4 separate regions of the Homo sapiens genome follow, and all the other regions are linked to region 1. The links are contacts of gene promoters, found by promoter capture Hi-C in human tissues and cell types (Jung and others, 2019). All regions are on one chromosome and are shown on one strand. The core of a region is centred on a gene start or on the middle of the fragment in contact, and the rest is flanking DNA. Distances in the headings are between cores, read along the strand shown. Region 1 holds the start of PNPLA5 (patatin like domain 5, triacylglycerol lipase). Region 2 overlaps MPPED1 (metallophosphoesterase domain containing 1). Region 3 overlaps EFCAB6-AS1 (EFCAB6 antisense RNA 1). Region 4 overlaps MPPED1 (metallophosphoesterase domain containing 1).

The links. Contacts are between HindIII fragments. The study calls those that stand out against the background at their distance.
Region 2: a contact is called between a fragment that was not itself captured here and the fragment with the promoter of PNPLA5 in region 1, in 1 of the 25 tissues and cell types used here (lymphoblastoid cells).
Region 3: a contact is called between a fragment that was not itself captured here and the fragment with the promoter of PNPLA5 in region 1, in 2 of the 25 tissues and cell types used here (dorsolateral prefrontal cortex and lymphoblastoid cells).
Region 4: a fragment that was not itself captured here is called in contact with the fragment with the promoter of PNPLA5 in region 1 in 1 of the 25 tissues and cell types used here (IMR-90 fibroblasts).

The regions. Positions count from the first base shown.
Region 1 is chr22:43,888,196-43,894,817 of GRCh38, forward strand. It overlaps PNPLA5 (patatin like domain 5, triacylglycerol lipase), which reads right to left and starts at 3,818. Exons shown (of 9, transcript NM_138814.4): 1 at 3,493-3,818; 2 at 2,867-3,099; 3 at 1,604-1,669; 4 at 1,134-1,343. The coding sequence starts at 3,685. The HindIII fragment of the contact is 8,381 bases long and covers 1-6,622 here.
Region 2 is chr22:43,505,769-43,513,379 of GRCh38, forward strand. It overlaps MPPED1 (metallophosphoesterase domain containing 1), which reads left to right. Exons shown (of 7, transcript NM_001044370.2): 7 at 1-2,080. Among named protein-coding and RNA genes, the nearest start is that of EFCAB6-AS1, 6.7 kb to the right of the region's middle. The HindIII fragment of the contact is 7,472 bases long and covers 859-7,611 here.
Region 3 is chr22:43,522,374-43,530,006 of GRCh38, forward strand. All of the region lies in intron 2 of EFCAB6-AS1 (EFCAB6 antisense RNA 1), which reads left to right. EFCAB6 (EF-hand calcium binding domain 6) reads right to left here. Exons shown (of 32, transcript NM_022785.4): 32 at 6,405-6,602. The coding sequence ends at 6,480. Among named protein-coding and RNA genes, the nearest start is that of EFCAB6-AS1, 9.9 kb to the left of the region's middle. RefSeq lists an enhancer at 5,320-5,819. The HindIII fragment of the contact is 6,308 bases long and covers 1,757-7,633 here.
Region 4 is chr22:43,439,613-43,446,975 of GRCh38, forward strand. All of the region lies in intron 3 of MPPED1 (metallophosphoesterase domain containing 1), which reads left to right. Among named protein-coding and RNA genes, the nearest start is that of MPPED1, 31 kb to the left of the region's middle. The HindIII fragment of the contact is 5,257 bases long and covers 2,971-7,363 here.

The DNA.
Region 1 (6,622 bases), core at 2,568-5,067:
TCTGAGTGCCTCAGCTTCCTTATCTAGAAAATGGGGCTGGGGTTTCCTGCCCGCCCAGGGGTGTGGGGAGTACCGGAGTAAATGAACATGACTTTGTCTCGTGACTTAGAAAGCACTACACAAACCTGAGAGGTAGAAGGGACAAGGAAGAGCCAGGATGTGGATGGGGCAGAGGAGTGTGTGTGTGTGTGTGTGTGTGTGTGTGTGTGTGTGTGTTTCTTTCTTTCCTTCTTTTTTTTTTTTTTTTTTTTTTTTTTGAGATGGAGTCTCACTCTGTCACCCAGGCTAGAGTGTAATGGCACTATCTCGGCTCACTGCAATCTCCACCTCCCAGGTTCAAGCAATTCTCTTGCTTCAGCTTCCTGAGTAGCTGGAATTACAGGCATGCGCCACCATGCCCAGCTAATTTTTGTATTTTTAGTAGACACAGGGTTTCACCATATTGGCCAGGTTGGTCTTAAACTCCTGACCTTAAGTGATCTGCCAGCCTTGGCCTCCCAAAGTGCTGGGATTATAGGCATGAGCCACCACACCCGGCCAGGAGGAGTATATTTCAATAGTTGTCAAATTATCTGTTTTCCAGAAATACCAAGGGGTAAAAAAACGCTTCCTTCATTTTTTTCTTTGCATTTGTGCCTTGCCTCTACAATGGATGGTCAATTTGGCCACAGTCAAGGACGGTGGTCAAGAGCATGGGCCTGAGCCAGCTCTAGGTCTGAATCCTGGTTTTGCTGCTTCCAGTCTGTGTGACTTTGAACAAGTTGCTTAACCTCTCTGAACCATAGCATCCTCCCCTGAGAAATGGAAATGATAACGGTACCTGCCTACAGACCCTGGCCCAGAGGAGCACAGGCAAAGGCCCTGCTCAAAGGCCAGCTAAGCAGAGTTGGCGTGAGTGTGTCCCATTGACATGGGGCCAGTCCTCATTCATCACTGGCTCAGGGCAGCAAGAACAGTAAGGACACAACTGAACCCCAAGCTTAGGATTCAGGTGTTTGGCTGTGAGACTCGGGACATGTGTTGTAACTGCCTTCAGGCTCGGGGGGCAGTGGGGGTTAGGAGCACACAGAGTCTGACTCACGGGGCCCTTGACCTTGGCCAAGCCTCTAACACCATCACAGGGCCAGACCTACCTCGAGGCTGGGGGGTATGAGACATATGAGCCCCAGGAAGAAGTTCTCAGTGGAGATTTGGAAGCTGAAGTTGAAGACGTTCAGCTCATGCAGGTTGGGGGAGGTGCTCTGGGGGCAGATGTCCACTGTCCCATGGAAGGGCGACACCGTGATGGTGGAGGGGCAGTCTGCAAAGGGCAAGTTGTTGCTCAGAGCCCCATCGATGTAGCGCTGCAATTTGTGGGGAGCAGGTGGGTGGTGCTGCCCTCTCAGAGGGCCTCCCACACTGGCTGCAGCCGGTGACCCTCCAGCTGTCCCTGAGTCACCAGGGCCACTCCAGCCCAGGAGGCTGAACGCCCCCCAGGAGCAGGGGGAGGGCCTGGCACACAGTAGGTGCTCAAGGAGCGCTGGTTTCCTCCACCCAAGCACCTCTCCACGGTGTGCACCCCAGGCTGCCCAGAGCACAGAACGGGGTTCCAGAGTGCACTCACCTCCCCTCTGAACTCGGGGGGGATCAGCCCGCAGTAGAAAGGAAAGTATAAGGTGCAGACCAAGGCCTAGGAAGAGAAGAGTCAGCAGGAACACAACTGTGCATGCTTCTTGCATTCAGAACCTTCCTAGGCACGGTTTCTAATCCCAACAGCCTGCAAAGGAGGTGTCATCAGTCCCACGTCCAGATGAGGGAGCTGAGGCATCACCTCCCAGCCAAGCTCTCCAAGGGAAGCAGGGATTGGAGCACCTCTGTCTTGACACCCACCTCCTCTTTCTGTGGGTGTGCAGGGAAGGAGGCCAGGTGCAGGCTCCTGAGGAAGCCAGCCGGGGACCCCAAAGAGTGGCCCAGACTCCTTGCCTGTGTAGCAGTTGGGATGGGGCCTGGCACATAGTAGGTGCTCAGTACACATTAGCTGCCGTGACTGTTATCAGTCTGTGGGAACAAAACTGTCACCTGCATCTCCATCTGGTCAGGGCCAGGATGGGTTCTGCACCTCCCAGAGAGAGTTGGGACGTTTCCAAGGGTTCCATGAGACAAAGTCCTATATTCAAAAGTTTGCAAGCTCTGGGTTGGTGGTTCTCAACTAGGAGTGATTTTCTCCCCTACAGGACACCTAACAATGTCAGAGACATTTTTGGTTGTCACACTGTGTGCCTGCACTTGAGCGTGCGCGTACACACTATTGGCAAATAATAGTGTCAGGGTGTATGTGAAGCATCTTTTTTAGACATCCTATTTCATTTCAATACTGGATGGTTCCTTACCTCCTTACTTGGAGATGAGTTCATTATCGATACCGCCTGCCCCCCAGAACCACTGAGCATAGAAGCCCCAGGAAGGCAAGGGTTTCTGTCTGTTTTGCTCCCTGTTACAGTCACAGTGCCTAGAATAGTGACTGGCACATAATAGGTGTTCAATAAATGTCAACCCACCGCCAAAAAGCGGCGGGAGGATGGAGTGGGGTGGAGGCTGGGGCTAGCCAGCTGCCCTCTGGAAAGAGCAGTCCCTGTGGGGGCCCTGACTCAGCAGCCTGACTCTGCCGGGCCCCAGCCAGACCCTTCTGTGTGCAGCAACCTGGAAAGTCTCCAGACCCACCCTGCCGACCCTCTCTGGGCCTCAGTTTCCTCACCTACAAACAGGTCCACCCGCCCTCCCTCCTTCCGCCCCTGCAGAAACGTCTGACGGGGAAGTACCTGGATGTCACTCTGGACTAGATGGAGCCCGCCCACCAGCCAAGCCCTGGGCACCCCCCGCCCCACACCTGGATGAGCTCATCGCAGGTGGCGAAGTCAGTGACCAAGAAGTTGCGTCCGTCAGGCCAGCGGGTCAGCGAAATGCCCAGCCGCTGGGAGGCCAGGACGTGGGCGTCGGGGGGCAGAGCATCCTGCAGCTGCTGCTTGACGTGCTCGATGGGCGCGTAGGCCGGGTGCAGGATGCTTAGGCTCAGCCGCTCCAACTGCCCAACCATGCCCAGGAGGTGGGAGCAGCAGAAGTCTGCAGTGGGGGCAGGGAAAGGGAGACCTCAGCGCCCAGGGATCCTGCCAGTCCCTCCACACCCCCACTGCCCTCCTAGGTGCAGTGGGAGCGGGGTCCTCCCCACTCCAGCTCAGAATTTCTGGGCTCGGCCCCGGATTCAAATGATCCGTTCACCTTTTCACTTTTTGCCCCGCCGACCTGGGAAACAGAGTTTCTGGCTCTGAGCCACGATCCCTCCTCTGCAAATGGGGGTCACCTAGTCCCCAGCACTCGGTGTTCTCATGGGATTAAATGAGGCTGTGCCGGGGGTAGAGGGCGCAGAGCACAGCGCCAGGCACCAGCGTCTCTGGGCTCGATCCGCTTTCATTAAGCTGTCCCCGCCCCTTTTCGCCCCCGCGGTCCGGGACTCACCGACCGACTTGCCGCAGACGATGCTGACTGCGTTGAGCGCCCCAGACGAGGAACCGTAGATGCGGCGGGCGCCCTGGAGGAGGCGCGGGGCTCGCTGGCGCAGGCATTCGGTGGCGCCCACGTGGTGGGCGCCCAGGTAGCCGGCGCCGGAGAAGGACAGGTTCCATCTGCCCTCCTCCTCTAAGAAGCCCATGGCGGGTGGACCGGGCGGGGTGATCGGGACGAGGAAGGGTCACTCCGTGACCCGGGATAGGGCCGGGATGCAGCCTTGGACGGGGCTGGGCCCAAATGTGGGCTCTGGAGGGAGCCGGGCTGGGGCTGGTGCTGGTGCTCCCTGCGCCGCCCCCGGGCTGCGTCACCTGCGCCCCAGCCAATGAAGTCCCCGGGTCGCGATCAGCCCCCACTCCAGTTGTGCGCCAGGTGTGCCCCAGAAGTGCCCGCGCGCTGTGTATACGCTGGCGCCGCCCCCACGCGCCCGCCCCGGATCCGCATCGGGTCATAGATTTCTGGGTGACACGGCAGGGGAGTGGGACCAAATCTTGCCTGATCTCTGGTAGTCTGGGCAGATGTTATTCCAGTCCTCATTACGCAAATGAGGCAACTGAGGCGCAGCCCAGGATGGTGACAGCCAGGAAGTGGCAGAGTCGGACCCAGGACACCTGGTCTTTGGGGTCAAACCAGGCTTAAGTCCGCAGCTGTGCTGGTTCCAGGGAGGGACTTGAGGGAAAGAGAGGTCTCGGGGCCAGCCTCCGCTCCAGCCAGCACCACTGCACCTTCCCCTGGCTCACCCGCTCTCCAAGCCTCACCTACCACTACAGCCTGCTCAAACATCCCACCTCCTCCCTCCTCCCCTAATCAATCCATTGGAAAGTGCTTTATAAACTGCAAAGCTCCAAGAACTTGGGTTTGTAGTGATTAGGGCTGTCTGGGCTCCAATTCTGGCTCCAGAATGTCTTGGCTGGTGACCCTGGATAATTTAACTGATCTGTGCCTCAGTTTTCTCATCCATCAAGTGGGGATAATAACATTACTTACTCCATAGGACCGGTAAGGATTAGAGTTAATGCAAGTAACGTGTTTGGAATAGCGCCCGGCACTGGATAAGCACACAAACAATGGTTACTACGGTGATTGTTTTAATCAAGTGGCGCACAATCAATGGCAACCGCTATGTTATTTATTTATTTATTTAATTTTGAGGCAGAGTCTCACTCTGTCACCCAGGCTGGGGTGCAGTGGCACAATCTCGGCTTACTGCAACCACCACCTCCCAGGTTCAAGCAATTATCCTGCCTCAGCCTCCCAAGTAGCTGGGACTACAGGCACGCACCACCACGCCCAGCTAATTTTTGTTATTTTCGGTAGAGACAGGGTTTCACCATGCTGCTCAGGCTGGTCTCGAACTCCTGGCCTCAGATGATCTGCCCACCTCAGCCTCCCAAAGTGCTGGGATTACAGGCAGGAGCCACTGCGCCCATCCCTGTGTTACTGCTTTAATCACATGGCACATATCAGTGCCTTCTCATGTGAGCTCCTTGAGGGCCAGGTCCTCCATCTGTGCCTGGAAGAAGTGTGGCACAGTGTTTGTGGACTGAATGCTCAGCCCATGGCCTGGGTGGGTCATTTTCGGAGGAAGAGGTGGGAGGATCTGCTTCTCTTAGCCTCACACCTACCTCTTCCTTGACCTGGGAGTGAAGGGCAGCTTGCCCATGGGCACTGGGTGCAGAAGGCACCCTGGGACAGGCCAGCCCAGCCTCCCCTCCCACAGAGGTGGGCGGTACCGGGCTTTGCTGATCCCACACCAGGGGCGGCATCCTTGCCTCAAAGACCATGGGCCTGCACAGACTCACCCACCTGGTGGCAGGTACCCCAGGCTATCTCCATTGCGGGAAGGACCCAGCCCCAGCTGCAGGGGGTAATTAGAAGCCATGTGCTGACTCTGCTCCAGGAGGGAACCAGGTCACAGCAGGCACAGCCAGGAACATTTCACCCACAGTTGTGACTGTGCCGGAGGCAGACTGAGCCTCCCTGGAACAGTGGACCACCAGTGTGAGTTCAGGAAGGGAGGAGTTCAGGGGCTGGGAGTTCAGCAGGGACATGTTCCGGAGGTTTCGGAGAAAAAGCAAGGTTTGAGCAGGACCTTGGAGGTCGATCAAGGGTTCACCACGGGGAGAAAGGGAGATGGGCACAGAGGGAAGAGTTTGAGCAAAGGCACCAGGCAGGGAGGAGTAGGGAGGAGTGAGAAGCCAGCCAGCGGGAGAGAGCAGTCATGGCGGTGAGGGCAGGTGGTGCGGGGCTGTGGGAGGAAGCGTAAGGCCTGGAGCCAGGCTGAGTTTCTGCGTGCTTGATGCTTCAGGAATTGGGTCTTGCATTTTGGTGTGGGCTGTCTGAGGCCCCCCAGAGACAGCAGGCAGCACAGAGCTCAGGGTGGGTGACTGGTCAACATCAAGTGGGAAAACAGTCTGGCTGGTGGCATCACCAGAATGATGGGGCTGGTGGCAAGTCTAGCAGAAAGTGTCCAGAAGCACGGCCTTCCCCAGCAGCACCATCTTCTCAGGGAGCTGCCCTGGAACCAGCAGCTGAACCAAGGCAGGCTCACTTCTGGGGTGGCTTGGGAGGTTGCAGGAAGGCCAGGAGCCTGCAAGGGAAGATGTCGGGAGTTCAGGCTTGCTGGCTGTGTGACCCTCAGCAAGTCTCCTACCCTCTCGGTGTCTGCCTGACCTGGCCATCCACAGGACAGTTGTGGGCGAGCTGGTGTCAAGGAAGATGCACCTGGTCCACCCGGTCCTTTGCCATATTGTCCAGGCCTCTGGGCTTCCCATTCTTGGAAATAATGCTAATTCTATTATACCTCCCTAAATCCAAAGCAAGCATAACCAAACGTACTGGGCCACCCTGAGGCCAGTCTTGCACGGTAGTGTCTCCAAAAGGAAGTGAGGTTTGCTTCCACAGAGCACTGGAGGCCCCTTGCAGGTTCTTCAAGGCAATAGGGGGCAACAGGTGGGTCCGTCCTAGGGCCCTGCACTTACATTCTTAGTCTCCCAAACTCCCTGCTACAGGAAGAGGTGACTGGGAGGGGCTTGGGGGCTTCTTGGATGCTGGAAATGCTTCGTAGGTCGCTCTGATTACA
Region 2 (7,611 bases), core at 3,345-5,844, 380 kb before region 1:
CTTCTGTCACCTGGAGTTGGGACCCTGCGCATCCCCATCAGGGGTTCTGTGCTCATTTACTTTTTCTGCGTGTACATCCTGCGTGTACCTCGTTAAAGGACCTACTAAGCTCATGGCCCTGTCATGTTTGGGAAATGACTAAATCTTCATTCTTCTCCCTTGGACGCCCTCCTGGTTTGGGAAGCTGCTGCTCTTGAATGGGTTTTGGAAGTTACACAAAATCTCCCTCTAACCACGGGTCTGTGTGGCGGCATGCCCCTGGGTTGGGGTGGGTGGGAGGATTCGTGAGCTGCACACAGACAGTCCCTTTCTCTCCTCCCAAGTGAGGGAGGAGACAGGCCCAAGGCGGAGGCCCTCCGAGGGAGCATTTAGGGACATCTCAGGAATTCAGACCGCACCTGGCCAGGCCCACAGCTGTTTGCCTGGCATTGTTCCCCCCTTTTTCTTCCCATAGGCATTTTTGTTTACTTGAACAATGACCTGAGTGTCCTAGGCATTCACTCGGAGCCTGGATGATGGGGGCTGGTTCTACAGAATGAGCCACTGGCATTCGTGCCCAGGACCAGTGAGAGCGTTCCCAGTCATGGGGGGATGACCCTTGGTCCCACGGGGAACACACTGCTCTGTAGAATGCGGTAGCCTGGATGGAGGGTCTGCAGGCTTAGGCTGCAGCAGGCCTGCCATGGGTGTGAACCCATGTCCAGGCACGCACCGACACACATGCACGCACGCACCCCTCTTAATTGAACCAAGTGGGTCCTGTGTTTCTCTTTTCTGCCCCGTAGTGAGGTTCTGTTCCTTGGTGCGGCTTCCCTTGCACCGTTAGGATTCTGTCTGGCATGCCTGCAGCCGAGGAAGCCCAGGACCAGCCGGCCCTGTGAATTGGAGGGTGGCACAGGGACCGAGCGGGCCCCAGGCTCCAGCAGCCCCACCTTGGACAGCTTCTTTTTCTTCTTTGAATTAGGACTGGAGGGGGTGGGGCCAGGGCGGTGGTGGGAACCGGTAGGGCCTAGATGAGGGGCAGGCAGTCAGGCAGAAATGGGCAAGTTCAGGGTCAGATTCTGTCGTTATTTAATATTTTGTTCATCATGGACTTTTTCTGCATTTATTTTGATTTTTAACGTTGCATTAAAGTAGTATTATTTGTCCTGATTGGTGACTTTTTTTGCACCCCTTTCCGTTGTACATCTGAGAGAAGGGTGTCACTCCCTCACCCAGGTCCCAGCCCTGGGAACCAGCCTACCGTGAGCCCTTTTGCAGATATAGACTCATTTCATCCTCAGATGGTCCTTCAAGGTAGGTACTTTAGTCCCATTTTAGAGATGAGACGATTGAGGCCAGAGGGGTGTGGTAACTTGCCTGGGGGCTCACAGCACAAAAGGAGCCGAGGCAGGATCTGACCCTTGTTCTCTGGCCTCACTGCCCTCACTTTGCCATGACCCGAAGTTATGTCCCTACAAAGCAATGCATGGTCCAAGGCTCTTTTTATTGTATTTTTATTTTTAAGGGTCCTGTTCAAAACTGGTGTGAGCTCTGAGGAGTCCTGAACCCTGGGTGCAGCATCCTAGCATCCTGGGAGTCCTTTTCTGCCCACACTGAGCTGGGCTCCTCGAGGGGTGGGGCTGCTGTCCCTGGAAGCCTGGCAGCAGCACTGTATCGGGTTGGCTGAAGCTGAGCGCCGTGGGGTGCAGGGCTCCAGGAATCCCGTTTGGCTGAAGGGGTTCCTGTAGCCAGGGATGTTTATGAGGTCTCTCTGATGCCCCAGGCGCAGGACATGTGTGCGGGTGGAGAAAAGCAGGCCCTTTCAGTGCCAGCTCCACTCAATTTCTATGTGGACCAAGAACGATAAACTTAAAAAAATTTTTTTCCTAAGGTATCTTCAGAATATGGTGTATTTTTATGTGGAAAAGAAAAGTTATGAAGGCAGCTGTTACTTTAAGAGAAAATTCATTAAAAGTCCTCGAGGTATGAAGATGACGGCGTGCTTCTCAATCATTTTGGCATAACTTGATTGTGGCTGTAATTTTTTTTTTTTTTTTTGTCAAGCATGTCAGACAATAAAGTCTTTGTAAAAAGAGAAGTCCACGCGGCACCTCTTCCTTCCACATCTCTGGCTGTTGTCTGGGACACATGGTGGCAGCGTGGTGTCCTCTTGCAGAATGCTGAGGCCTGGACAGAGCTTGGATGCCAAAGACCTCCTGTGTGGCAGCAGTCGGTGTCCCTCTGCTTGCTTTAACCTCCCCTGGGGTGGGGGGATCCCAGAGGTGGTGGTGTGGGCAGTTCTGGGTCCTCTTTTGTACAAATACTTGGCTGCCTGGTCTCCCAAAACAGAACACCTCCAGAGGCCTTAGCGCTGGACTCTTCCTGGAAATGGCATGTTCAGCCCAGCCCCTGTGAAACACAGGGTCCAGACATTGCCCAGGAGAAACACTGGCAGGTACAACGACCCTAGTCTGAAAGCCCCCAAGCTGCAAAAGTTCTGTCATTTTTATCCATCTGTCCGTCCATCCCTCTATATACCATCCACCCCTCCTTCCAACATCCATCCATCCATCCATCCCCCATCCTTCCATCTATCCATCCCCCATCCCTCCATCTATCCATCCCCATCTATCCATCCATCCATCCATCCATCCATCCCCCATCCATCCATGCCCCATCTATCCATTCATCCATCCCCCCTCTGTCATCCATCCATCCCCCATCTGTCCATCCATCCATCCTTCCATCTATCCATCCCCCATCCATCTATCCATCCATCTCCCATCCATCCATCCATCCATCTCCCATCCATCCATCCCTCCCTCCACCCATCCATCCCCCATCTATCCATCCATCCCCCATCCATCCATCCCTCCCTCCATCCATCATCCATCCATCCCTCCCTCCATCTATCCATCATCCATGCATTCATCCATCCATCCCCCATCCTTCCATCCTTCCCTCCCTCCCTCTCTCTATCCATCCATCCCTCCATCTATTGATCCCCCATCCATCCATCCCCATCTATCCCTCCATCCATTCCCCATCTATCATCCATCCATCCCCCATCCCTCCATCCATCCATCCCCCATCTATCCATCCATCCCCTCATCCATCCATCCCCCATCTATCCATCCATCCATCATCCATCCCCCATCTATCATCCATCCATCCCCCATCCCTCCATCCCCATCTATCCATCCCTCCATCTATCCATCCCCCATCCATCCATCTATCCATCCATCCCCCATCCATCCATCCATCCATCCATCCTCCATCCATCCATCCGTCCCCCACCTATCCATCCATCCCCCATCCATCTATCCATCCCTCCCTCCACCCATCCCTCCCTCCATCCATTCGTCCTCCATCTATCCATCTAACCATCCATCCGCCATCCGTCCATCCCTCCCTCCCTCCGTCCATCATCCATCCATCCATCTCTCCCTCCATCCATCCATCCCCCATCCACCCATCCATCCCCCATCCATCCATCCATCCCTCCATCTATCCATCCCCCATCCATCCATCCTCCATCTATCCGTCCATCCATTCCCCATCTATCATCCATCCATCCCCCAACTGTCCATCCATCCATCCCTCCATCTGTCCATCCCCCCATCCACCCATCTATCCATCCATCCCCCATCTACCCATCCATCCCCCATCCATCTATCCATCCCTCCATCCATCCATCCCTCCCTCCGTCCATCCATACCCCAGCTATCCATCCATCCCCCATCCAGACATTTATCCATCCTTCATTCATCCTTCCATCCATCCATTCACCCCCATCTATCCATCCATCTCTCATCCATCTCTCCATCCTTTCGTTCATCCCCCCATCCATCATCCCTCTATTCACCCCCCATTCATCTATCCATCCCCCATCTATCCATCCATCTATCCCCCATCTATCATCCATCCATCCATCCCCCCCTTCATCCCTCCATCCCTCCATTTGCCCCATCCATCCACCCATTCCCTCATCCATCCATCCCTCCATCCCTCCATTCATCCACCATCCATCCCTTCCTCCTCCTTCCCTCCCTCTTTCCATCCATCCATCCATCCTTCATCCTTCCCTCCCTCCCATCCATCCATCCAATCTACAAACACCACTGAGTACCTCCCATGGGTCTTGCTTGGGCTAGGGAAGTGGTGGCGGCGGCAATAGATTTAGGAGGTAGGATGGCAGTGAGGAATGGATGTGGGGCATGGGGGAGGGACAGCCAAGGACGGCAGTGGAAGTTGGGTGCTGTCACGGAGAAGGGGCACAGGAGCAGGAAGAACAGGGCTGAGGAGGGACGTGGAGTGCTGTTTGGGACTCATGAGCTGGGGGAGACTTTGGGCTACACAGGGGAGGTGTTCAGAGGATAAACAGGCCTGCAGGAGAAACAGTGTCTCTGGAGCCAGATGTGGGTCATAAGCAAAGATGTGGGGCAGGGGAGACCTCCTAGGGAGGTGTGCAGGGCAGGGGGCAGCCTGGGGCAGATCACAATGTGCCACCTCTTCATTGCCCTCTCCTGTTCTCAGACTGGCCCCACCTGTCACCTGCCCCTCCAAGAGTCCCCTCCACCAGGGTCTCACAGGGGTGTACAACAGCCATCCCAGGCCCTGGCTTCCCATCCAGAGGCCACAAGGAACTAATCAGTTTAAGGACCCCAGCTGCTGCTCTTGGCCAGCATGCACCCCAGCAGGGCTCCTGAGCAGGGGCAGGGAAGCGACTCTGGCTGCTGCCACTAGTGGTGCTGTCACGTGGTAGGTGCCGCCTGAATGCATCAGGGTCCTGTTGGCCCAGCTGAGATGCAGCAGCAGCTGAGCTGCATGCTTATGCAGGATGTGTAGACAGCTCTGAATTTGTCCAGGGTACTGCACCAACAGTGAGGGCATCCTGCAGCAGAGGTGCCTGGTGTTGGAGCCTCAGCTCTTGGGGGTGCAGCACTCTGGGCTCACCCAGGCTTGCAGCCATCATTCCCCAGGCAGCCCCGAGGCACAGGAGACAGAGCAGCATGGGGCCTGAGACCGCTCTCCATTGCCAGTGGGAGTCCAGTGGCAAATGCAGCAGGCTGCTTCCCCTCCCTGCCTCCTCTCTGATGGTGCACCCACTCCCAGAGCCCCAGCCCCAGCCCCAGCAGCTCCGTCTTGCAATTTGCTTCCATGGAGTTGATCCTTGAACCTCCATGAGGACCAAATTCGTAGGACTTTTTCTTCTAGGAGACTCACTTCCCAGATTCCTGAATGAACTGGCGGAGGTGACAAGCCCTGTGGACAGGGGCTCCACCCAACTCTCCCCGGATGCCACCCACAACTCCCACCTGGGCCTAAACCTGCCTGGCCAGCTGGGGGCCTTGTCACACAGACCTGAGAGGCTCTGCCCCACTTCCCATCGAAGGCACGACTGAAAAGGTCTCCACGATGTGGGGATTAGGCCTGGCATCTGGAAATTCTCGGTGCACTGTGGAAGGTTCATCTGACCCCAGAAGAAAAGCTGAACCCCTCAGGTCTTATATATTGGGGCCCAGTAAGTGGCAGATGGGTCAGTCTTGGGGGCCCTGGTGAAGACCAAACTCAGCATACTGGAGGAAGCTTCCTGGCGGAAGAAGTGTGGCTGGGCCCTGAACAGCAGGAAGTCATGAAGGGGTTGGGATGCCCACCTCTGTGTGCCGGGCACTCAACGCATCTGTGTCGTTTAAGATCCACAGCAACCTGCAGGGCCAACCTACCTTCACAGAAGAGGGAGCTGAGGCTCGGAGGGGCCGCGGCTCGCCCACGGCTCAGTGAGTATCCGAGCTACCAGTGGAATATGTGGCTGCGGCCTGCAGCCTGTCCACTGCCAAGACCCAGGACTCATTTTCACATTCGTGGAGAGGAAGGGAGGGGCTGTTCTGAAGGTGGGTGGTGGGGATATGAGGTTAGTTCCTCCAGAAGCATGTCCCAACACAGGGCTGCGTGTTTGTGATTCATTAAGGGCAAGTGCTCCAGAGGGAGGGACATGGGGAGCAGGCGAGGACAGGGAAAGAGTGAGGTTGGAATTCGTTTGGAATTCATGCTTCAACCTGATCCTCCGGGGTCATAGGATGTGAATTGCCCCACAGAGTTGGTCCACACTGCTTCCTACCCACACCCCAGCCTTTTATATCCCTAAGGAAGTCAGGGATTGGCTGTAGGCCGTCCCTGAGCAGAGATGGGGGGTGTCTTACATCCCAGGCAAGGCAGCTTCTGCTCAGTCAAGGGCAACTTTCTCTAGAAGGAGGCAGAGGAGAGGCCTCCTAGCAGCTGGGGTCTGGGCAGACCAGAGCATCCACCACTGTCCACCTCCTGCAGCCCCAGATCCGTGTGCTTCTCACACTTACTGCATCCAGGCTTCTCCAGTTCCCTGGTTGGTCAGAATTCCTGGGAAAACCTGGGTGGACGCTGTGCTGCTGCCATGGGTCCTGAGTCCGTAACCAACACTCCCTACCTTCCCCTCTACCTGGTCTGGATTCCCTCCCTCTGACCTAGCACTCATGCTGGCCCAGGGGCTTAACTGGTAGGGTGACCCTCCCGTATCCCTAGGGGCCGAAAGCCCTGGTTACTGTCCCCTGATAGGCTGTGGTGTGTGCACCTGCCCACTTACCGCTGGAACTGGCTGTGGGAGCACCAGGAGATGCCCCAGCAGGCCCCCGAGTGCCAGGCACACATCTCCCTGTCCCTCATGTGGCAGTAGTCCTCTTTCCCGGTGATGGTCAAGGCCATCCCCCTGCCAGTGGGGGGGCTTTGTTCTTCGCTGCCTGTCTCCTGGCTCAGGAAGCCCAGGTGGGCCAGCTGACACCAGAGCTTTCAGTTGAGATAGCCTTGATGGAAGCATGAACCTCTGGAATCCGGGGCCTATAGACTTACAGAGCCTGTGCTGCAAGGGACTAGAGGCATAAATTCCCCACGTTGGTCACAGGGTGTGATGGTGGCCTGGGCCACCTCCCCCCAGCCCTTCGTTCCTAATTCCATCTTTCACAGACCCAGCAGCAGGTAAGGCCACTGCTAAAGGTATATGCTGCATCATAAGGCAGAGTGCCCATTTCCACAGGGGCCACCGTGGCGGAGCACCCGTCCCTGCCCAAAAGATAGTCAACCAAAGTCAGCACAGCTTCCCAAGGGGCGTGCGGAGGTCAGGACCACTCTCAAGGTTGGCCTCCAACACATCTCCAATTCCTCTGTCCACCTGGCCCCCCTGAAAATGATGGTCACAGCAGGTGACAGTGCACCACCAAAAATTTAGCCAAGAAATAGTCCAGTTGTAGCTGCTGTGCCAAATATGGTGTGTGTACTCAGCAGATGAACAGTTTTAAATACGGGGCTGTGCGGCTGCTGATCTGATGAATGTGTTCTTTTCAAAGCCCATCAGGAAGGAGGAACAAAATGGGTTTGCATCCCACTGGATGACCAGTGATAGACATGTGTGGCCTTGGCATGAAACTATGCGAAGTGTTTCACTCTCTGTCACAATGTGGTCCAAAGAGGCGGGTATTCTGGCCGTCCTGACACTGGCCCACAGGTTTGACGGCGTCACGTTAATCCGACGTGAGCAGTAAGACATGGTTGGGATGCTCTCCAGATACCTGGGTAAAACTCATGCACCCTAGAGAGTAG
Region 3 (7,633 bases), core at 3,661-6,160, 360 kb before region 1:
CAACATTCAGCCAGGTGGCTGGCCACTCTGCATCAGCCTTCACTTTCTGCTGGTGCAGCAAGTCAGCCAGAGGTGAGAGTGTAGGGCCTTTTTAATGTCTTTTCTGAGCATGCTCACAACCCCGGGCATACACACAGCACTGTCTACATTTGTAGCTTTCTAGATTCTCAAGAAATATGTTGGTGTTTTTTAAGGCCTCCACGTGACATTTTATTTCCCAGCTTTTCCTTTTAAGCTTTCTGAGTAGCCTTTTGATTACCCCAGCTGTTATCCATTGCCTTAGGCGGCCACCAAGTTAAAACACTTTCTTGTTTTTGTTTTTTGTTTTGTTTTTTTTTTTTTTTTTTTACAAATACTCCCTCCTTAACTCTGGGAGAAAGGTTTTTTACACCTGGGCAAGCTCCGAGTTAGGCCCAAAACAGCCAGCCTTGCAAAGGGCATCTTTCAGGGATCCACCATGCAGGCCAAATAGCGACCATATTTTGGTGAAATAGGCTTTGAAGTTGCTCCAGCTCTGTTCTGCTCTGTGTGGTGACTATCACACTGAACTGGGAATGCAGGCTGTTATTTTCTAAGGCTGTTGGGGACCTGGAGAGTGGCTGGTTGGACTAGGGCAGTTAAAATGCCACAAGTCGGCTGGGTGCAGTGGCTCACACCTGTAATCCCAGCACTTTGGGAGGCTGAGGCAGGTGGATTATGTCAGGGGTTCGAGACCAGCCTGGCCAACGTGGTGAAACCCCATCTCTACTAAAAATACAAAAACTAGCCGGGCACGATGGCGCATGCCATAGTCCCAGCTACTTGGGAGGCTGAGGCAGGAGAATCACTTGGACCCGGGAGGTGGAGGTTGCAGTGAGCTGAGATGGCACCACTGCACTCCAGCCTGGGTGACAGGGCAAGACTCCGTCTCAGAAAAAAAAAAAAAAAAAAAAGCCACAAGTCTTGCCAACGCTCAGCTACTTTTCTTGAATAAGTGCCCCTTCGGTTCCTGCAAGCCTTTGGATAATTTCTAGAGTTCTCAAAAAAGTTGATCCTGACCATTGTTGCCAGTTTTCTTGCTGCTGTTTTGGAGGAAAGGTCTTTTGGAGGGCCTTCCTCTGCCATTTCTGCTGATGTAACCCTTCATGATTCCCTTTTATCTCCTCTGTTCACTTGTTAATTTTACCTTTTGCAAGTCTATTTTTAAAAGTATATTTTTAGTGATTGCTCTATGGTTTATAAATACATTATAAAACAATCTGTCTTCAATTATATCATATTGCTTCACATGCAGTATAAGAAACTTTTAACAGTACACTCTGAATTCCTTCTGCCCATCCCTCGTGCTTGTTGTTGTACTTTTAAATGTGGTGTAAACACATAATACACTGTGACAGATTTTGCTTTAGATGGCTAACTTTTAAAATAATTTCAGGTATAAACATATTTTATTTTACCTTTGATTATATCACTTCTGATACTCTTCATTTCTTTGATAGATCCAAATTTCTGACTCAATCATATTCCTTCTGCCTGTAGAACTTCCTTTATTTATTTATTTATTTATTTATTTATTTTTTGAGACAGAGTCATGCTCTGTCACCCAGACTGGAGTGCAGTGGTGTGATCTCGGTTCACTGCAACCTCCACCTCCTGGGTTCAAGCAATTCTCCTGCCTCAGTCTCCCAAGTAGCTGGGAGTACAGGTGCCCACCATCATGCCTGGCTAATTTTTGTATTTTTAGTAGGGACGGGATTTCACCATGTTGGCCAGGCTCATCTCAAACTCCTGACCTCAAGTGATCCACCCGCCTTGGCCTCCCAAAGTGCTGGGATTACAGGTGTGAGCCACCGCACCCAGCCTAAAATTTATTTTATGGTAAGTATGCCATCAGTGAGTTCCTTCAGTTTTTGTGTGCCTAGAAAATCCAATGTATCTCTTTATTTTTGAAAGGTATTTTGCTGGTTACAAAATTTGAGCTTGATGATTTTCTTTCAGCACTCTGAAAATGTTATGCCATTGTCTGCTGGTTAGCATGGTTTCTGAGAAGTATGCTATAATTCTTATCCTTGTTCCTCTGTAGGTCATGTACATCTTTTTTCTCTAGCTGCCTTCTTTTTTTTTGCAGCAATTCGAATATGATATTCCTAGAGGTGCGTGTGTGTGTGTGTGTGTGTGTGTGTGTGTGTGTGTGTGTGTGTGTGTGTATCCTGCCAGGTTCTATATGCTTCTGTTCTCTGTTGTTTAGTGTTTGTAACTAATTTTGGAAAATCCTCAGCCATTATTTATTCAAATATTTCTTCTGCACCATGTTCTCTTTCTTTTCCTCCTGAATTATGTGCATGTTAGACTTTTTTTTTTTTTTTTTTTGACACAGAGTCTCACCGCTCTGTCACCCAGGCTGGAGTGCAGTGGTGCGATCTCGGCTCACTGTAACCTCTGCCTCCCGGGTTCAAGCAATTCTCCTGCCTCAGTCACCTGAGTAGCTGGGATTACAGGCACACACCACCATACCCCACTGATTTTTGTATTTTTAGTAGAGACGAGGTTTCACCATGTTGGTCTTGAACTCCTGACCTCATGATCTGCCCACCTCGGCCTCCCAAAGTGCTGGGATTACAGGCATGAGCCACTGTGCCCGGCCCCATATTAGACCATCTTATACTGTCCCACAGCTCTTATATATTCTGCGATTTTTCCCCACTCTTTTTCTCTCTGCATTTAGGTTTAGATACATGCTATTGACCTATCTTCAAGCTCACTCATTCTTTCCTTGGTTATGTAGAATCTACTGATGAGCGAGCCTGTCAAAGGCAATCTTCATCTTTATTACTGTGTTTTTTTTATTTCTAGCCTTTCTGATTCTTGCAGTTTTCATCTCTCTGCTGAAATTGGCTGGTCGTGTGTTGTCTTTCTTTTCCATTAGCGCTCTAACACATAAACCAGTTATTTAAACATTTTTCTAATGGTTCCAAAATCTGTCATGTCTGAGTCTGATTCTTGTGATTGCTTTGTCTTCTCAAACTGTTTTTATAATTGCCCTTGGTATACCTCAAAATTTTTTGTTGAAAGCCAGACATTTGTATAGCAGGGCCCAGCAAACTTGCTCTGTGGAGGATCAGATAGTAAATATTTTAGGCTTTGAGGTCCACATACATGCAGTCGGTTGCATTTCTTGTTCTTTTCTTCCTTCCTCTTTCTCCTCCTCCTTCTTCAACCCTTAAAAATGATGGACCCTCAAGGCTGCTGAACAGGTTCAGACTAATTGTACTGACTCAGCCTCAGGAAGTCAGGAAAGCTTCGTGGAAGAGGTGGCTTTGAGAGTTTCGAAGGAATACCCGGCATTTCCTGAGGAGTAGGTGGAAGAAACTGCTGGTGCCAAGTGCAAAGATATGTAAGAACAAGCATGGGGAAGCTGAAGTCCAGCACACAGGATGGGATCTGGGCACCCAGGTCGGGCCTCCAATGCTGAGGCAGGGCACATGGGCAGGGCATCCATCTGCCCCTCACCACTAAGCATGCAACCCTCCATCATGGTGGGGATTTTAATAGGTTACTTTGCAAATTTGGGGACACACTTTCAATTTCTGGGGTTGGAATAACAGCCGGCAGATGCCAAGCCTTCTTTCCAGAGCTCATTGAAAGCTCAGTGTCACCTGATTTGTTTTTACAGGGGAGACTGCATTTTAAAACTGTTATGTCAGAGTGTGGTGCCAGCAGTGCTGGTGGGACATGCATGGGAAGATCCAGAACTTGTTTTGCCAGAAGCTGGGAGATGTGGCCAAGAGAATGTGGGTCTGACCCCACAGCCACCTCCTAGTGCTATGGGGAGTCCAGCACTCACAGACTCCATCCACAGAGAAGCCCCCAACACCAGAGTTGCTCCCCAACTTGCCAGCACTCCCTGCAGAACCTGGTCAGCTTTCCTTCTGGGAAAGGGACCCAGAGGCTGTGCCCTGCCAGCATTAAAGCACCTGCTGTGTGCCAGGCTGGGGGCGCAGGTCAGTGTTCTCACCCTATGGGTGGAGTCTGGGCCCAGCAGTGGGTGCAGAAGGGAGTGACTCTCTCTGCCAAGCGGTGACAGCATCGAACGGGGAGCTCAGCCTCTGCCCAGGGGTTACAGGAGGATTGGAGCTGGGCCTCAGAGGAAGAGTACGCGGGCTGTGCAGATGAGAACAGAAGTAGTCCCAGAAGGAGGAGCCAGCAGGAGCCAGGGCTTGGAGGCAGGGATGTGGGCACAGGGCTGAGTGAGTCCTGGTGCTGCCTGCAGGGGAGCCTGCCCGCCCACCTTCAGGGCCTCTGACACTGGCTTGGGCTGTTACTCACTGTCTGGGCCAAATCCTGCAAGCTGTGAGACTCTGGAAAACTTCCGGTACCTCAGTTTCCTCATCTGTCAAATGGGGATGCTCACAGGAGTCTAAATGATGATGTGTGTGAAGCGCTGGGTTTGAGTCCCACACACCTGTGCTTACTGGGTGCTGGCACTGCCCTGTCCCAGCCTGAGCCCCGCACACCTGTGCTCACTGGGCGCTGATACTGCCCTGTCCCAGCCTGAGCCCCACACACCTGTGCTCACTGGGCGCTGATACTGTCCTGTACCATCCTGAGTCCTGCACACCTGTGCTCACTGGGTGCTGATACTGCCCTGTCCCAGCCTGAGTCCCGCACACCTGTGCTCACTGGCTGCTGATACTGCCCTGTCCCGGCCTGAGTCCCGCACACCTGTGCTCACTGACTGCTGGCACTGGCCTGTCCTCAGCCTGAGTCTGGCATGCCTGTGTTCACTGGGAGCTGACACTGCCCTGCCTCTGGCCGGAGTCTCAGGCTGGTGCCCCTGGCCCTCACAGGCCTTCCTTATTCTGGGCTGAAGCCTCTCTCATGGGAACATCTGCTGCCCACAGGCCCAGGTCCCACAACAAAGGTGACACAAGTGTGGTCCCACCATTTCTACAGATGAGGACGCTGAAGGGATGGGACCTGGTACAAAGTCACATGGAGGAGCAGCTGGGGTCCAGGGCGTCTCTGTCCCGTAATCACTGCATGGCCCTGTTGATGTGCCTACTCAGGGTCCCCTTCCCCTTCCCTGAACTTGGGGCTGCCTGAGCACCCCGTTCCCCCTGCAGCGGTCCAGCCTGAAATGAGGAGGAAACTAAGGACAGATGGAAACAAAGGTGACCCCAGGAAACATTTTCCAGGAAATAGAAGGCCTGCGCGGGCTGGGCGGGAGCCTGTCCTCCCAATCACACCCATCCAATGCGCGGCTCTGCCACTCAGGGAGAGATCTGCTCACCTCAGGGTGTGGCCTCATTTGGACCCTGTGCAGGGGCAGGGAAGGGCGTTTTGGTGGGCAAGGCCTGGGGCCCAGGTGGAGGGGAGGTGCTCCCCCCACACCCCATATCCTGCCTGCTGCTCCCCAGTTCCTTGGAGAACCTTCCAGAAGGTGGCAAACGCTGCCTGAGTCTCTCAGCTGAGTCACAGTCCATGAAAGCGGAGTGACGATTTTCAAACTTCTCTTGTCAAACCTGTCAGTTCCAAGGAAGGGCCCTCTCAGAACTGTCCCTGGTGGGGGTTACGGCCAGTGGCCACTAGGCTTGGGCTCAGGAAGGCGGAGGGAGGCCCAAAGCTCCAGGGGGTCTCACTCAGGCGTGAGTTGCTCTTCATGGAGTCAGGCTGGCTGGCATCCCTGAGCAAGACAGCGATGGGGCGGTCAGTGCCTGTGCCTCTAGGAGCAGAGACATGGCCACCCTGACTGCAGCAGGGGGCTCAGATGTCCTCTGATCCAGGACCCAGGAAGCTGGGGGGTCAAAGGAGGCAGCAGTCCTTGGGTAATGGGGTGCAGGGCCCCAACTGCTCTGGACTGGAGGAGACACCTGGCAGGGGCCATGAACAAAACCTCCGGAAAGTCCAAGCTTTTAAGAATGTTAGCGCAGAGGCTCATGCCTGCAATCCCAGCACTTTGGAAGGCTGAGGTGGGTGGGTCACCTGAGGTCAGGAGTTCGAGACCAGCCTGGCCAACATGGCGAAACCCTGTCTCTATTAAAAATACAAAAATTAGCCGGGTGTGGTGGGTGCCTGTAATCCCGGCTACTCGGGAGGCTGAGGCAGGAGAATTGCTTGAACCCAGGGGGCGGAGGTTGCAGTGAGCCGATAGCGCCACTTCACTCCAGCCTGGGCAAAAGAGCCAAACTCCGTGTAAAAAAAAAAGTTAGCATTAGTAATTATTTTATAGTGTCAAGAATCATTCTTGCAAAGATTATTTGTTCAGACTAACAAGTGAGGGTGCCCAAGACATAGTGGTAGCACCTGGCACCTGGAGAGCAAGCATCCTATGCCAGAACCCAGGGCAGCTGTGCCTACCCCCGACCCAGAGACAGGCGGGCTGGGCTTGGGCTTGAGTTTTGTTTTTTTTGAAAATTCATGAAACCCCCAAATTATAGGATTTTATTAGCCTTGAAACAGGCCCTGTGGCTGTCGTCCCGCTGGGCACACAGCAGGGGTGTCTACTGGAGGAATGCCCGGAGGAAGTCGTTGTAGGAGATTTTTGAAGACAGCGTCTTATCGTAATACTCCAGAATATGGAAGAACTCTTCCTCAGAGAGGTTGATGCTGTACTGTCTCAGGACCTGGAAGACAGAGAAAAGGGGCCTCTGAGGCTTGTTTGGTGCCCTAGGTTAAGGAGGCAGGCTGCCAGGAAGGGGCTGGGGGACACATCCACCTGATCCCCAACCCCACTTCCGATGTCAGCCTCCCATCTGTGCGCTCTCTCTATGCCCTCTCAACCTCTGCCCAAACAGGAAGCAGCCTCCAAGGGCAGCCCTGTGTGCATCTGGGTGTGAAACTGGAGCAGACAGGAGGTTGATCACCTTTGCCTCCCTGAGGGGCTGAAGGCTGGTCAACGTATTCAGACAAGGCTGATGATCAGAGAGGTGGGGGCTCAAGGGGAGACCTGGCCATGCAGCCCTAACTTGGGGCAGAGCCTCAGGGTGCGCCCAGGCAGGGGAGGGCAGGGCCAGTGGGTGCTGAGTGCAGAGAGTTGCTGTGATAAGACCGTAACAGAGCCTGGAGCAGAGCCTGCTGGTGGTAAACCCAATACTGACTGCCCCTTCCTCTTCAGTTATAGAACCTGACTCTCTCCCAGCTCCTCTGTATCCAGCTAACCGGGAACATGTCTCAGCCTCTCTTGCAGCTAGGTATGTTCTGGCCTGAGAAGCTAAGTAAGAATGTTATGTAGAACATCCAGGAAGCCTCCTTTAAAGGAGAGGGGCATGCCCTTTTCTCTCCTGTTTTTCCACCTGCTGCCTGGAATATGGCTGTGATGCTGGGGCTCCAGCAGCCACCTTGGATCATGAGGTGGCCTAGAGGAAGGAAGCCAGGAGTTGAGAACAGCAGAGCAAAAATGTGGTCCCTGATGATTGTCCAGCCACCACACCAGCTCTGACCTTCCTACCTCTGGACTTCTTTTATGTGGGAGTGAAATAAACTTTCACCTTAAGCTGCTATTTTCCCCGCCCCATTATGTGAAGCTGAAACAAATCCTGACAGACCCTCATAGTATATAAAGATGAGGCCATACATTTCCTATCCACATTTGCGTTATAACTTGTTTCTAGGAGGAGACTGGAAAGCAGGGCTAGATGGCCCAGAGGTCCTATGG
Region 4 (7,363 bases), core at 4,349-6,848, 450 kb before region 1:
ATTTTCTTGCCCCAGGGCTGTGGGGAAGGGTTGATGAATAGTATTCCCACGCAGTGCTTTGCACAGTCCGGGCACCACAGGATCCCTGTCATTGTGAAACATCTGTCACGGTGAACAACTTGCCACTCCCAGATCCTTGCCCCACACAAAACAGACTCCTCAACTTCAACACCAGCAGCACCATTTCCCTCCAGCCACACCGTCCAGCTGGACTCCTCACTCGTAGAATAAGCTCCCCTCCCTGGTCCGGGGCCCACGCTCCACTCACCCCTCCAGAGCTGCCCCTTGTGAAGCCTCCCCCAACCCCGCTGGGCAGAGCTGTTCCCTGCTCCTCTGTACGCCCAGAGCTCCTGGTCTAGGCTCTGCTGGTGGCTCTCGCCTTGCGGCGGGGGCGTGTCTCCTACCTCCACTGTCAGCCCCTGAAGGGGAGGGTCAAGGCTTCATGTCCAGCGCCAGCCAGCGGAGCCCTGGACAGAGAGGAATGTGCAGCCGTGAGTGGCATGCTGACCCCGCTGACGCAGCCCTGTCTGTCAGCTGGCCATGGTGACCCCAGCAGGGCAGGGCATGCCTGAATGCCACTGGGTAGGCCACCAGTAAATGGGAGCTTCAAGGAGGGCAGCGCTGTGACACAGACCAGTGTGAGCCATCGCTGTTGCCACACACGACTTGGGAAGTGATCTGAGAAGACTCAGGGAGCGTAAGTTGAGTTGGGGTCTCAAGGACGAGGCTAGAAGCTGGGGCCACAGGTGCTCTGGACCTGATGAAATGTGCTAGCATGCAGGCCCCCCTGGAGGCCAGGGTGCTGAGGGCAGGAGGGGAGGCTGAACACCCAGAAGCACCCTCCTCCCAGGATGCCCTACAGAGGCAGCCACTGACCCCAAGGCCCTGGCACTGCCCACATCTTTCCCAAGGCAAGAATGCCAGGTCCAAATTCTGCTGCCATCTCTGAGTGACAGCCATGCCTGCAAGAACTGTCAGTTCCTGAGCTGGGATTTGCAAGATGCCAGAAAGTTCCCTCTCTGTGACTGGCAGGTGCCAGGCTGGCCTCCCCACCCCCAGCCACAGGAAGCCTGCAGCCTCCGCAGCCCTCACTGCACCCTCCACAGCCCTCACTTCACCCCTAGCCCCCACAGCCTGAGGACCCTGCGCCACCCTTGGGAGTGACTGCCAGAGGCCACAGGTGGCTTTGTACTGGCTGGCCTCTCCTCCCCTCAGCTCTGCGGCGCCTGATGCTGGATGCAGGTTCCTCTAGTGTGGGTTCTGCCACAGGCTCCATGTGGCCTCCCTCTCCAGGGCCCTTTTCCATCTCCTCCTTTTGTTCCTCATTCCCCTCCTGCCCACTGAAGGGGGCTTCTCCTAGGGTCCATCCTTAGGCCTCTCACCCACCTTCTTTCCAAATGACAACTAACCACTCAGACCCCCCAGCTCTAGCTCCACCCAGACCTGCAGAATGCCTCCATCTCTCTCATCCAGCCACTGCATTGTCTAGTCTTCTTACAAAACACCTCCTCCTGGGTGTCTGCCAGGGTTTTAGACTAGTTCTGTCCCAAACTGAACTCCCAAACCTCTGACCCATCCCCTTAGGCTATGTAGTAAGATGAAGCACTTCACTATGGCATTTGGGACCCTCTCAGTCAGGGCTCCTATGTCCCCTCTCCTTTCCCTTTGAGGCTGACGTCTGCAATCATCTATTGTGATTGTGACACTGCTATCGTCTGTCCTGCCCACTGTCCCCTCTGCCCACTGTGTCACCTGCTGAGCTGCTGTGGGTGCTCTGTGTGCCAGCCTACTGGCCTCCCTTCCTCCTGCAGCTTCTGTGAGCCACTCCAGGGCGGAGACCATACCCTGGTCAGCACGGGTCCTCAGAGCCCAGCCCAGCCTGGTGCCGAGGTGCCCAGGGGTGTTTGTTGTAAAAGCGTGGTCTGTAAAGCACATGATGGGCCCATTAATTAAGTGGCACTACCCTTAGCAGACTCAGGCAGGGGAGGAAGATGAGGGCCTGGTAATGGAGTATTTAGAAGTTATAATTAAGTTTGCACTGGCGCCTGAGCATAACACGATATATGAGACAATATAAAAGGGGTCCAAGGATTTAGTGAAATAGAACTAGGTCTTTTGCAAGTAAACCCTTAATTAAAATCCATGAGGGAGGAAGGGGGAGAAAGGGAAATGGAGAATTTACGTCAAGGCAGTTTCTTTGGTTCTTGCCTCATTTGCCACTGCATGGAAGGTCTGAGGCTGCAGGGGGTTTGCCTGGAAATGGGCCACACACAATCGTTTTGCCTCTTTGTGATTTAATCCCAGGGCGCCTGCCGGCGGAATGGGCACCTTCTCTGTTCAAGGTTCCAAGTGGAGGTCGGGGGCTTCAGAAAGGAGCAGGTGGGGCCTCGCCCTCCCCTTGCAGGAGCAGGAGGCAGCTCACAGGCATGGTAATTAGGATCATGTGTGGGAAACAAGTACTTTCTGGTGCAAGCTGGTGGTTGACCCCCCTCCACGCCCCTCTCATAATTTGTCTGTCCTTTCCAGTCTACTCTCTGGCCTCCTCTCTTCTACTTGGGGGTGCGGAAACCAACCTTGGATGCGGATGGGAAGGTCCCCATCCCAGAGTTCATGGCTGTCTGTCCCCTGCAGCTTGTGCAAGTCCCTGCTTTTGTTTCTTTATTTTTCCCCTCCCTTCTTCCCACCTCCCCACCCAATGAACAGCATGCACAAGCTCCCTCCTTCTCTCCCATGCTCCTTCCTGCCTGGGTGCACCTCGCTCTTCCTCCCTTTCCTGACTTGAGCACTGCAAGATCCTGCCCCGTGGCTGCCCCTTCTGACTGCTGCAGAGTGTGCTGGGTGGGCATCCCCCGTAATAGATCAGGACCTAAAGCTAGTACCTGGGCACCCGCCCCTGTGCGGGGCTGCTCCTGCCTCCGGGAGGTGGAGCTGTTCTCTATGCATGGAGGGTGCGGTCGGGTGGGACTGGAGTCTTCCTGGGAATGGGGTGCCAAGCTCTGCAGGGGCAGTCCATCAGGCCTCATGCTGGCTCTGTCAGGACTGGCAGCCTCTCCCCAGTGCAGGGCACCAAGCACTGGAGGTCAGGGATGTGGGGCCACTTCTGATTCTGCCCTCATCAGCCAGCTGGCCTCCCTTCTCCCTCATGGAGCGTCCACCTCAATCAGATGAGACCGTGTGTGCACCCTGTGTGAACTCAGCCCCTCCTGGCACTTAGGGCCCTGCCGGTTCACGTACCTCCCAGTGTCAGAGCCCCCAGCATGGGTTAGTAGATCTCTCGCCTCTCCCGCGGGGCTGTGACTGCTGGGGACCAGGGCAGGGGTCTACGTGCATCTCAGTCAACACAGCGTGAGGGGCTACTGTGTTCACTGCTTTGGTGCTGGAGATTCAGTGATGGATGGCACAGGATTGTCCCTGCCTGGGTGGCCTGAGGTTGAATGCAGTCATAGGTGGTAAATAGCAAGCAGAGTGAAGAGAATTGATCAATGCACAGGGTAGGCTGGTGGTGACTGGAGTGGAAAGCTCCTTGACATAAGATGGCTGGGGAAGGCCCCCCTGGGAGGGTCATGCACGGAGAAGGACCCAGCTCTGAATTCCTGCTGCACAGTGGAGGCCTGTGGGCCTGATCCTGGTGATCCTGGGCCGCTGACCAGCTGGGACGAGGGCATGGATTTTATTCTAGAGGCCACTGGGGGGCTTAGGCAGGGAGGACAAGGTCTGATTCGGGTTTCTGAAGGACCCTTCTGGGTGGAGCCTGACTGTAGCAGGCAGGAGAGGACGCCAGGGTACCAGGAGAGGCTGGTGCAGGTGTCTGCGAGAGGCCAGGGTAGCTCAGGCTGGACCTGGAGGTGGCCCAGGGAGAGTGCAGTAGAGGCTTGGCTCTGGTTTGGAAGTGGAATCAACAGAATTTGCTGGTGGGGTATGAAGTTAGGGGCGAGGGAGATGGCTGACCTGGTATACTTAGGGCCTGGCAGCCTGGCATGAGGTGGGCATTTGACAAATATTTGTTAAAGGAATGAGGAAAGAGAAGACAAATTTTATGATGTGATCACTTTGATAAAAAAAAAGTCCAACCAACTTTTTTTTTTTAAAGAGCTAACAAGAATTCTCTCTGAAAGTGTACAGCAGACTTAAAATGGATTCTGTTGCTACGGCCTGATTCAGACATTTCCAGACACACATTGTTATTCTTGCAAAGACTTGAGATTGAATATTTTAAAAATAATTTTACTTTTAAACTCTGGAGCCTCTTGTCACCTCCGGCACTCTCTGATGGGGCGCTGTTGGTGTCCAGGGATTTTGGTTGCGTACGCACATGGCCAGTGTGATTGATAAACTGAGTGACCACCTGGAGAGTGAGATCAAGGCTCAGAAGAAAAATGGATGGCTTGTGCAGCAGAGGTTTGATCTTCATTTAAAAAATTAATTTTCTATATTCTTCATCAAAAAAATTCCTCACAAGCCATGCTGTGTTGTAGGGGCTAAAAGGAAGAAAATTAACTTCTAAGAAAGATGAAAAATCTAGAATTCTAAGTTGTAGTCAAGTGATTTTGGCCAGCCATAATTACAGTATTTTCATGTTAATGTATAAACCCCTTGAAAGGTATGCTTAAGTGATAATTATCTATTTACAACAAAATGGCTTTGGAAATGAAATGAGACCCACTGGGGTGTGTGTGTGTGTGTGTGTGTGTGTGTGTGTGTGTGTGTGTATCAAACATGTTATGCAGTGGTGTTTTTTTCTTTCTATCTATCTTTTTTTTTTTTTTTTTTTTGAGATGGAGTCTTGCCCTGTCACCCAGGCTAGAGTGCAACGGCGCGATCTCAGCTCACTGCAACCTCCCCCTCCCGGGTTCAAATGATTCTCCTGCCTCAGCCTCCCGAGTAGCTGGGATTACAGGAGCCAGCCACCATGCCTAATTTTTGTATTTTTTGTGGAAACGGGGTTTCACCATGTTGGCCATGCTGGTCTTGAACTCCTGAACTCAGGTGGCCCACCTGCCTTGGCCTACCAAAGTGTTGGGATTATAGGCATAGGCCACCATGCCTGGCCCTTTATTTCTTTATTTTTTTTGAAGACCATTATCCTAAGTATCTCTGCCTTAAAATTAAAAACTTAAAAAAAAAATCTAAGCAGGGTAGAGAGATTCATTTCTCTGAAAGTCCTGGACTGTCTGAAAGTTCTTGTGTGGCTTAATTTTGTGTAGTTTGTTATTCATTTGGATTTTTTGTTTGCTTGTTTATATCTCATTTTGTGTCAAAGAGTTGGAGATAGTTTATAAAAATGACAAAAATAGTAAAATGGGTAGAATATTGATGATAAATTAAAAGCCAGGGTTGAAAAAAAAGTTAGAGTAGCTCAGACGGAGGGCCTAGAATTCCAGTACCCAGTGCTATGTGGGCTGTAAGTGGTTAACTAGGGTCTGAGCTTCCTGGGGGCCAAAGTGAAGAAGGTAATTTGATTAATGGCCCTGATTATTGGGAGATGTGCCAGCTCCTCTGATGGGTCCTCTGTAGCATGTTTGACATCCATCTCATTCCACTGGGAGTAACTTGAAGGCCTATTCCTGTGCCCTCCTTATTTCTGTGTGGAAGGACCTTGGTAAAGGCTTTTGTATTTGGATAATAACAACAAATATTTATTTAGTTACCTGGTGTATAAAACATGCCCATTTCTGTCATTCATTTTGTGCTTTCTATCCCCCCCACCTCCGCCTTCTTTTGGATTGATTGATTGAAGTTTCTTTTTTTCGCCTCTACTGGTTTGGAAATTTTGTATTCTTTTTTGATTTGTTTAGTAGTTACTCATAAATTTTTAACGTGTGTATCAGACTTAACACAGCCTAAAATTAATCAACATCTCCATTCCTCCCTGAAGAACCTGAGGACACACGTACCCTGCCCCCTCTTGCTGCCATCTTATCTATATCTTTGCTGTCTGATGTTTCCTTTTTTTTTTTTTTTTTTTGCAGACAGGATCTCACTCTGTTGCCCAGTCTGGAGTGCGGTGGCACAATCATTGCTTACTGCAGCCTTGACCTCCTGGGCTTAAGCAACCCTCCCGTCTTAGTCCCCCACCTCACCCCGAGTAGCTGGGACTACAGGCATGCACCACCATGCCTGGCTAATTTTTGTATTTTTTTAGAGATGGGGTTTTACCATTTTGCCCAGGCTGGTCTCGAACTCCTGGGCTCAGGCAATCTGCCTACCTCGGCCTCCCAAAGTGCTGGGATTACAGGCATGAGCCACTGTGCCTAGCCTGGTGTTTACATTTTCTTTTTTTTTTTTTTTGAGACAGGGTCCTAGGCTGGAGTGCAGTGGTGTGATCATGGCGCACTGCAGCCTCAACCTCCTGGGATCAGGTGATTCTCCCGCCTTAGCCCCCCTAGTAGCTGGGACTACAGGCATGCACCACGACACCCGGCTGATTTTTCTATTTTTTGTAGAGACGGGGTTTCACCATGTTGCCCAGGCTGGTCTCGAACTCCTGGGCTCAAGCGATCTGCCTGCCTTGGCCTCCCAAAGTGCTGGGATTACAGGCATGAGTCACTGCACCCAGCCTGGTGTTTACTTTTAATGCATTTTTAACTCTGCCTCAAACTAGTCATAGTTATTAGTATTTGTTTTCCAGGTTGCACTTGATTATTTACTCAACAGATGTTTCCTGAGCACATTTTCTGCACTGGGCGTGATTCTAGGCACTGGGGATGCAGCAGTGAACAAAACTAGTTCCTGCCTTTGTGAGTCAGGGGAGAAGACAGGCTGTGGATAAACAGCTGTCATATGATGGGGGTGTTCAGGCTGAGGGGACATGAAGGGATGGGGAAGGGCCGGACCCTCTGCTGAGGGGATGTTTGCATGAAGATCTGAATGGAGGCAGCCAGCCGTGCCCATGTCTGGGCAGAGGCAGCAACTCTGAGTTGGGGGTGTTGACGGCACATGGGAAGATGTGGCTGGAACCCCACGGAGAGTCTGAGCAAGTGAGTGGAAGAAACTGAGTCCAGATGGGGGATGGGACCCAGTAGGGAAGCTTGGGGGGCTTCATGCAGGAGGTGGCAAGTGAGGCGGCCTGGGCATTTGGGCAGTGCTTGGACACATGAAGTATGAGCACAGGCCTTCCAGCTCAAGGGTTGAGGCTAACCTAGGGCGCAAGGCTGAAGCTGCTACTTGCCTTTGGTTTGCAATCATTCATTCACTCAACAAACATTTGTGGCACCTCTGTGTTGTTCTACACCCTGTGCCAGACACCAGAGATACCGTGGGCAGCAAATCAAGCAAGACTTCCACTTGAGAGCCACACAAACAAGAAAACACCATGAACGATGGAGACAGGACAGGGGGAAGTGGTAGCCGGGGACCAAGTTGG